Regions from separate parts of the Homo sapiens genome. Here regions 1 and 3 are each linked to region 2. Evidence: promoter capture Hi-C in 16 types of primary human blood cells and fetal thymus (Javierre and others, 2016). All regions are on one chromosome and are shown on one strand. Each heading gives the region's core, a stretch centred on a gene start or on the middle of the fragment in contact. The rest is flanking DNA. Distances are from core to core; before and after follow the strand shown.

Evidence for each region. Contacts are between HindIII fragments. The CHiCAGO score rates a contact against its expected background, and 5 or more counts as called.
Region 1: a contact is called between a fragment that was not itself captured here and the fragment with the promoter of UBE3A in region 2, in 2 of 17 cell types (megakaryocytes and endothelial precursors). The highest score is 7.8, in megakaryocytes.
Region 3: a contact is called between a fragment that was not itself captured here and the fragment with the promoter of UBE3A in region 2, in 1 of 17 cell types (monocytes). The highest score is 5.2, in monocytes.

What each region holds. Positions count from the first base shown.
Region 1 is chr15:25,112,237-25,115,050 of GRCh38, forward strand. The region is part of intron 58 of SNHG14 (small nucleolar RNA host gene 14); the gene reads left to right. Among named protein-coding and RNA genes, the nearest start is that of IPW, 2.9 kb to the right of the region's middle. The HindIII fragment of the contact is 805 bases long and covers 1,007-1,811 here.
Region 2 is chr15:25,437,594-25,440,309 of GRCh38, forward strand. It overlaps UBE3A (ubiquitin protein ligase E3A), which reads right to left and starts at 1,431. Exons shown (of 13, transcript NM_130839.5): 1 at 896-1,431. RefSeq lists enhancers at 547-1,492, 1,493-2,438 and silencers at 576-995, 1,356-1,695. The HindIII fragment of the contact is 4,364 bases long and covers 118-2,716 here.
Region 3 is chr15:25,757,962-25,760,751 of GRCh38, forward strand. The region is part of intron 2 of ATP10A (ATPase phospholipid transporting 10A (putative)); the gene reads right to left. Among named protein-coding and RNA genes, the nearest start is that of MIR4715, 89 kb to the right of the region's middle. The HindIII fragment of the contact is 7,432 bases long and covers 1-2,790 here.

The DNA.
Region 1 (2,814 bases), core at 159-2,658, 330 kb before region 2:
TGTCATATGAAAGAGTTTAAACATTGCCCTTGAAATATGACAGAAAGTATCAGAAATAATTATACCATTCCATGCTCACAGGCCAGTGGGAATTCTCACAGTAAGCATTTTGTCCAGAGAATATTCTTCTTAGGGAACTATAACATTCCAATGATAATGGTAGTCAGCCATGTGGCTGGATCATCGTTCCTGTATCCTGGTCTCTATGACTTAGTGTGGTGATGGTGTCATTGTGTCCAAGTGTGACAGAATTGTTAGTGTGTAGTGTCTGTCTCCTATCTCAGGCTCACAGTCCCTTTTATAAACATGCCTGGATTGATGATGGCTTCAGTATCTTTTGGAAATCTGGACTGAGCAATAGAATTGCTTCTCTCAAATTGATTTCAAGTCATATAAAAGGCCATGTTACACATATATTGTTAATCTGAGGGAGGCTGTGATCATTTAAGTTGTATTTTATAAACACTAGGACCACCAGTAAGAAAACAATTCAAAAAATATTAAAAGAACAACCAAAGAATTAAAATAGAATAACCGAAAAGATCTGTTTAACACAAAAGAAGGCAGTTAAAGATGAACAGAGGAACCAATAAGACATATAGAAAACAGATAGGAAAATGACAGACATAAACCCAGCCATATGACAATTATATTAAATTTTTAAGAGATTAGGAAATTCCGTTGTTTTTTAAACATGAGCAACTATACGCTGTCTACAGAAGAGACACTTTAGAACAAAAGATACAAATAGTTGGAAAGTAAAAAGATGGAAAAAGCTATATCCAGCGAATCCAGAAGAGAGCAGAAGTGGCTATTCTGACATCAGAAAAAAGAGACTTTAAGATAAAGTATTGCTAGAGAGGAAGAAGGATAGTATTTAATGATAGAAGGGTTAATATGGAATATGTAACAATTACAATCATATCAGCACTAACAACAGTGCCCAAAACTACATACACTGAAATTTAACATGATTGAGGGGATCAATAGGCAATTCAACAATAAAAGCTTTTGTTCATACCCTCTTCTTAATCAGTGATAAGTCAATTAGATAGAGCATCATTGAGGTTACAACATACTTCAGCAATGTTGTCAACCAATTTGACCTGAGATAGATAGATAGACAGTTAGACAGACAGACAGACAGACAGAGAAAACTTCACCCAACAACAGAAATACAAATTATTTTCAAGCATACCTGGAACATTCTCCAGGATAGAGTATATGTTAGGCTATAAAACTGTACTCAATAAATTTAAGATTGAAACCATGTAGAGTATGTTGTGTGACCATAGAGGAATTAGAAATCAACACAGAAATAAATTTGGAGGTCACAAGATATTTGGAAATTAACACACTTTACAGAGCCCATTGGTCAAAAATATATATATTAAACTAGAAAGGCCGGGGGTGGTTGCTTACACCTGTAATTCCAGCACTTTGGGAGGCGTAGGTGGGCACATCACTTGAGGCCAGGAGTTCAAGACCAACCTGGGCAACATGGCAAAACCCCATCTCTACAAAAAAATACAAAAAATGAGTTGAGCATGGTGGTGCATGCCTGTAGTCCCAGCTACTCAGGAGGCTGAGGTAGGGGAATCACCTGAGCCCAGCAGGTAGAAGCTGCATTGAACCAAGATTGCACCACTGCATACCAGCCTGGGCGACAAAGTGAGACCCTGTCTAAAAAATAAAAGGAATCCAGAAAACATCTTGCATAGAATTTGATACAACTAAAGACATGCTTAGAGGGATATTTATAGTTTTAAATAACTGTATCAGAAAAAAAGGGAAGATAAATAAATGACATAAGCTTCCACCTTAAGAAACAAGAAAAAGACTAAACTAGAAGATGAAATCCAAAGCAAGCAGAAAGAAGTAAACAATAGGGATTGGAGCAAAAATTGATGACATAAAAAACCAGACAAAATACAGAGAAAAATCCATGAAACCAAAAGTTGGGTTTGTGCAGAGATTTGTGAAATTTACAATCCTTTAGCTAGACTGACACAGATCATTAGAATTAGGAATGATGGAGACAACATCACTACTGACCCTATAGATTGGATCAGGAATGTCGCTGTTTGCTGCATTGTGCTTTCTTGAGGGGAGAGCTATGAAGGAAAACAAAGTTCTCATTGCACTTACAACTCAACAACACAGCGTTGACATTTTGATTCTCACTGGCTTCAGTGCTCATCTCTGTGAGGTTTCCAGAAGATCCCGTAGCAATATCACTCATTCTAAATTTATCTTTGGGCTACTCTGGGAACGCTGTCTATGGGTTAGCCCTGCTCTGCAAGGAGCAGTAAGAAAATATATATATATTTTTTGAGGCTGAGTCTCGCTCTATCGCCCAGACGGGAGTGCAGTGGCACGATGTTGGCTCACTGCAACCTCCACCTCCAGGGTTCAAGCGATTCTCCTGCCTCAGCCTCCCAAGTAGCTGGGATTACAGGCACGTGCCACCACACACCGCTAATTTTTGTGTTTTTGTAGAGACAGGGTTTCACCATGTGGGCCAGGCTGGTCTCAAACTCCCAACCTCAGGTGATCTGCCCTCCTTGGCCTCCCAAAGTGCAGGGATTACAGGCATGATCCACTGTGCCTGGCAAGTATGTTTGTAGCCAGTGGGGAATTATTTTAACTAGGCAATAATTTGATCTATTTTGGGAAGCCTCTTGTAATCAAATCATATATCAACATTAATCACATGGTGAGTCCTCCATGGTTTTCATTCCTAGAGATTCTAGGATGTTTGACATTTCTCTGCTTAGCTTATAGCAGAAAGGTATTGGATATCAAGAATGTTTG
Region 2 (2,716 bases), core at 181-2,680:
CAACAGCACCCTCGCCACTTAATAATCTCAAACAGATTTTGGACTGTTACTAATTTAGCATATCCATAAAAAGTCATTTAAAAAATGTAGACGCTAAATTCTCTTTCAAGGTTGCCAAGCTTCACCAGTGTCTGTATTAAAATTATTTCTAAAATTTTACGGACTAAGGCATTTGGTACATTCAATTCTACCTTTACCAACAAAAGCCTTTACCACCAAGATGAGGAAAGCATCCTTTTCATTTTCTACACTGAAAAGGGGGGGGAAAAAAGGCCAACTGCTTGCATACAGGTCTGCATATAACACAGCAGTCTCTGGCAAAGCCAATAACTCACGTTCAACTTCAGAAATCCTGGTGGCCGGTAACACAGAGTAACCTGTGCGCACAACCCTTGGGCTTGACATACCACTTCATCCGCCCTCCCTTCCCATCAATCCACCCCCAAAACCCCAACCCACCAAGCACACGGCTAAATATGTCTTCCCCAAGAGAGCCAAAAACCTTGAAAACGCCGAGAAAGGGCTCCCCTTTGAAGGAAAGGGCCTGCCCTTCCCTGTCTGGGGCCCCGGCTGGCTCGAAGAGCCTGGCTCCTAGGAGGCCCAAATCTCGACGCCTCGCACGTCCCGCCCCGCCCCGGGCCCGCTCGCGTCCCCTCGGGCGACAAAACCCTCCCGCCGTCGCTCAGCCAGGACTGACAGTTACGGCTGCAGCAGCCGCGGCCACCAGGGGCCTACTTCTGGCACCAGCCCCTTCGGACCACGCGCCCCCAAACACTCGCCTCGGCGGCGGGGGGCGGGGAAGGGGGGTGTCGACCTCGCCACAGCGGGCCCCGAAGGCCGGCCGAGTGACGGAGGGGAGCCAGCGCCGCCTGGCGCAGGCCGCGGCAACACTGACCTGTCGTCGCCCCCGCGCCTGGGCTGCGGCGGCCGCCTCACTGGTCGTAGTCGCCCTCGCCCGCCGCCTCCGCCCGCCACCGCCTCGTTCTCTTTCGCTGCCGCCACCGCCGGGGCTCATGCGGGACCCGCGCTTCCTTATCCGGAAAACGAGGCCGGGAAAGGGAGCGCCGGGGCCGCCGAAATCCCGGCGTTCGTCGCCAGCCGCCGCTGCCTGTCCACACCGGGGGGCTGAGGGGCCCTCCTGCCAGGGGCTACAGGCCGCGAGCTATTCCGAGGAGGAGCCGAAGGAGGCGCCGCCGCCCGCAGCCGAGCGCGCCGGGTCGGCAGAGGTGAAGCGTAAGTAGGCGGCGGATGGCGGGCGCCCGCGCTGGCGGATGGCTACGCGGCGGAGGGGTGCGCGAGCGAGCGAAGCCTGGTGTGTCGGGTCCTGGCGAAGGGAAAAGGCCCCGTCGTCTCCTGTAGTCACCCCGAGCCCAGCGCCACCATCTTGGGAGACACACGGATCTCGCGGCCGCGGCGCAAGACGGGAGGACTGGCTGGGCGGGCCGAGTATCCCGGCAGGCAGCGCGCGCCGCCCGGCCGGGCGAGGGCTCCAGGCCGGGACGCGGGGACGTGGGGCGGGGCCAAGACGCGCGGGAGGGCGCCGCGCTCCGCCCCTCCTTCCTTCGCCGGCCCCGCCTCCCTCCCGCTTGCCGTCGCCGCCGGCGCACGGGCCATTGGGAAGAGGAGGTGGCCTGCGGCCCCTCGGAGTCCCACCAGGCTCGGTCGCCATCTTGCGACTGGACAGAAAGGGTAATCCCTCTTTTTAGTTTCTGCTGTCTGTGACCCGAAAGAATAAACCTGGGACTTCCGGAAGCCCTCTGGGCACCCCCCCCCCCAGGAGGGTTGCAGAGCCCCTTGGTGTACCCAGCAGAGGAACGCCTCAGACTTTGTTGGGAAACGAATGGCTCTGAAAGTTAGCTGAAGCCGCTGGAATAGCCCCCCAGCCCCGAGGCGGGGCAGGTGCCTGCCGTTATTGGCTTTTCGACCCCAACCCTTTTCTATCTGGAGCTGCCTTTGTAGATGTTGCAGGGGTGCCCCGAGAGTGCAGGCCAGATTTTAGAGGACCAAGGTCATCTACTTAGGCCTCTTGCCAACACAGGATGTGTCAACTAGTTTACCAGAGACGAAGGTAAAGTCCCGTCTCCTGCAGTTGTTGACGTTCAGTAGGTCGTCGGTTAAGAAAAGTGGCTCCCTGGTTGACCCCAGCTGGATAGAGGCTAATTTTGATCCATATGACAGCTGAACGTAGTTAAAGCCATTAAAATTAAATCCATTTAAAGTCATATTTGGTACCAGGGTCACCATTTTAAAAGGTGTGTGTGTGTATGTGTGTGTGTGTGTGTGTGTGTGTGTATAGCTTTACAACACTTGCTAGCAAAGCCAAAAGAGTATCACTAACAATTCATAGTGTTACAACTTGCAACTTTGTTGATAAGCCCTTGAAGTACTAGATGAGTACCCATGTCTAGTATTCAGATTTTTTATATCAACAGTCGTACATAGCAGTGTATCTTTTTTAAATTTATTTTTATTTTTAAACTTAGAAATGGTGTCTTGCTATGTTAGGCCCAGGCTGGTCTCGAGCTCCTGGCCTCAAGTGATCCTCCCACCTCGGCCTCCCAAAGTTTTGGGACTACAGGCATGAGCCACAGTGCTCGGCCAGCAGTGTAATTTTTAACTGTCAGTCTCGGAACATCTTTTTTGTATAGCCAAGTGTGTGGGTGTGTGTGTGTATCCGCCTCACAACTATAACCAACCATTGAAAAACCAACAATAA
Region 3 (2,790 bases), core at 208-2,707, 320 kb after region 2:
GCTCCACCCTAACTCATTCCGATCACCTGCTCCACCCTAACTCATTCCTATCACCTGCTCCACCCTAACTCATTCCGATCACCTGCTCCACCCTAACTCATTCCGACCACCTGCTCCACCCTAACTCATTCCGACCACCTGCTCCACCCTAACTCATTCCGACCACCTGCTCCACCCTAACTCATTCCTATCACCTGCTCCACCCTAACTCATTCCGACCACCTGCTCCACCCTAACTCATTCCGACCACCTGCTCCACCCTAACTCATTCCGACCACCTGCTCCACCCTAACTCATTCCGACCACCTGCTCCACCCTAACTCATTCCGACCACCTGCTCCACCCTAACTCATTCCGACCACCTGCTCCACCCTAACTCATTCCGACCACCTGATCCACCCTAACTCATTCCAATCACCTGCTCCACCCTAACTCATTCCGACCACCTGCTCCACCCTAACTCATTCCGATCACCTGCTCCACCCTAACTCATTCCTATCACCTGCTCCACCCTAACTCATTCCGACCACCTGCTCCACCCTAACTCATTCCTATCACCTGCTCCACCCTAACTCATTCCGACCACCTGCTCCACCCTAACTCATTCCGACCACCTGCTCCACCCTAACTCATTCCGATCACCTGCTCCACCCTAACTCATTCCGACCACCTGCTCCACCCTAACTCATTCCGACCACCTGCTCCACCCTAACTCATTCCGACCACCTGCTCCACCCTAACTCATTCCGATCACCTGCTCCACCCTCATTCCGACCACCTGCTCCACCCTAACTCATTCCGATCACCTGCTCCACCCTAACTCATTCCGACCACCTGCTCCACCCTAACTCATTCCGACCACCTGCTCCACCCTAACTCATTCCGATCACCTGCTCCACCCTCATTCCGACCACCTGCTCCACCCTTACTCATTCTGATCACCTGCTCCACCCTAACTCATTCTGATCACCTGCTATCTGCTCTCCCCTGACTCCCGCCAAAGCACTTACCCTGTCAGTCTCTTTAAATTAGCCCATTGGAAGTAGTTTAGCCTGTGCGATCTAACCCTAGCCAATGGGGGACCGACACAGCACCAGGGGCCACGTGCGTCAGGGATAAGAACCCCTTCCCCTCCTTTGTCCAAATGTGCACTCGCCATTGTTCCATCTGTAAGGGCGCACCCTTCTATATAGAAGTAACTTGCCTTGCTGAGAATTAAAAGGAACATTTTATATTCGAGTGCTATTTCTTTTGTGGCACCAAAACTTTATATATAACAATATATATAACAAAATGATAAAGGGAAAAGGCAAGTAAATTTTTATCCTCAGGTAGAAGGCATAGGACAAAATGGAAGGTTTAAGCAAGATGTAGGTTTGTGCAAGATTAATCTCATGAAAATAATTTTATGTGTGATCAGATTGACTAAAATTAGAAAATTTAAGTTTTTAAAAAACTGAGCATTAGTATGAAAAGTACACTGATGGGAGGGAGGAGTTTGAGCCTCTGTGTTAGAACAAGGTTTTCTTGGAGCATTGCTCTGCCCTTAATAGAAAACTGTGGGCCAGGTGTGGTGGCTCAGGCCTGTAATCCCAGCACTTCTGGAGGCCAAGGTGGGCGGATTGCTTGAGACCAAGAGTTCGAGATCAGCCTGGGCAATATGGTGAGTTCCTATGTCTACACAAAGTTTTTAAGAAAATTAGTCGAGCATGGTGGCACATGCCTGTAGTCCCACCTATTCAGGAGGCTAAGGTGGAGAATCGCTTGAGCCTGGGAGGTGGAGGTGGCAGTGAGCTGAGATCACACTACTGTACTCCAGCCTGGGTGGAGACCCTGTCTCAAAAAAAAAAAAAAATAGTGAAAAGTTTTTCTTTACCTTTTAGGTAGCTGGCCTAGGAAACTGATTCTATGTTTAATCAAGATAATTTCTTGTGCTTTGTATCTTTGAAATCTTCTGTCACTTTGGTTTTATTTCACAGTGATCTGTGTTCCTATCTGATCATGTAATTTTTTTTTTTTTCTTTGAGATGAAGTCTCACTCCGTCGCCAGGCTGGAGTGCAGTGGCGCGATCTCGGCTCACTGCAACCTCCAACTCCTGGGTTCAAGCAATTCTCCTGCCTCAGCCTCCCTGAGTAGCTATGTAATTTAAACCTTGGATATTTGACAAACTTTTCAAAAAACTTTTGACCGAAATTAACTTTAGGACATTCCAGAAAGCCCTGGAACTTCTAAAAGGAACTGTAAAACAAAGAGATTAAGCCAACATGGGCTTATCGAATATTTTAAATTATATGGGAAGCACTGTCAAAACATGGAATGATGTTTAGCCTTCGAGTGACAGTTATATGGATGTGTTATTAATAGATGTTCCAAAATTGTATAAAGTTCCTAGAAACCTATGTCTTCATATAAATGCTATCAGTCATAATTATGGTTCACGAATAACCAAATTTCCTTGTCAACTGCATTGCCATAGCCATTTTAAGCCTTGGTGTTCATAGCAATTGCTTTATTCCAATGCCTTTCTGAAAGTTACTTGCAAGCACTTACAATCTTCAAGTGTTATGTCTTCAGGGCAGTTCATGGAAAGAATGGAAAGAATGAAAAAAACTCTGACAAGTATATAGTTTCTAATAATTTTGAGTTCATAGCATTGGACTGAATTTCCAAAACTATAATAGCACAAAACTGATGGGCTTGTGCTAAGCAAGTTCACAGCAGGAATTAATTACATGGAGCTGGGCACGGTGGCTCATGAATGTAATGTCAGCACTTTGGGAGACTGAGGC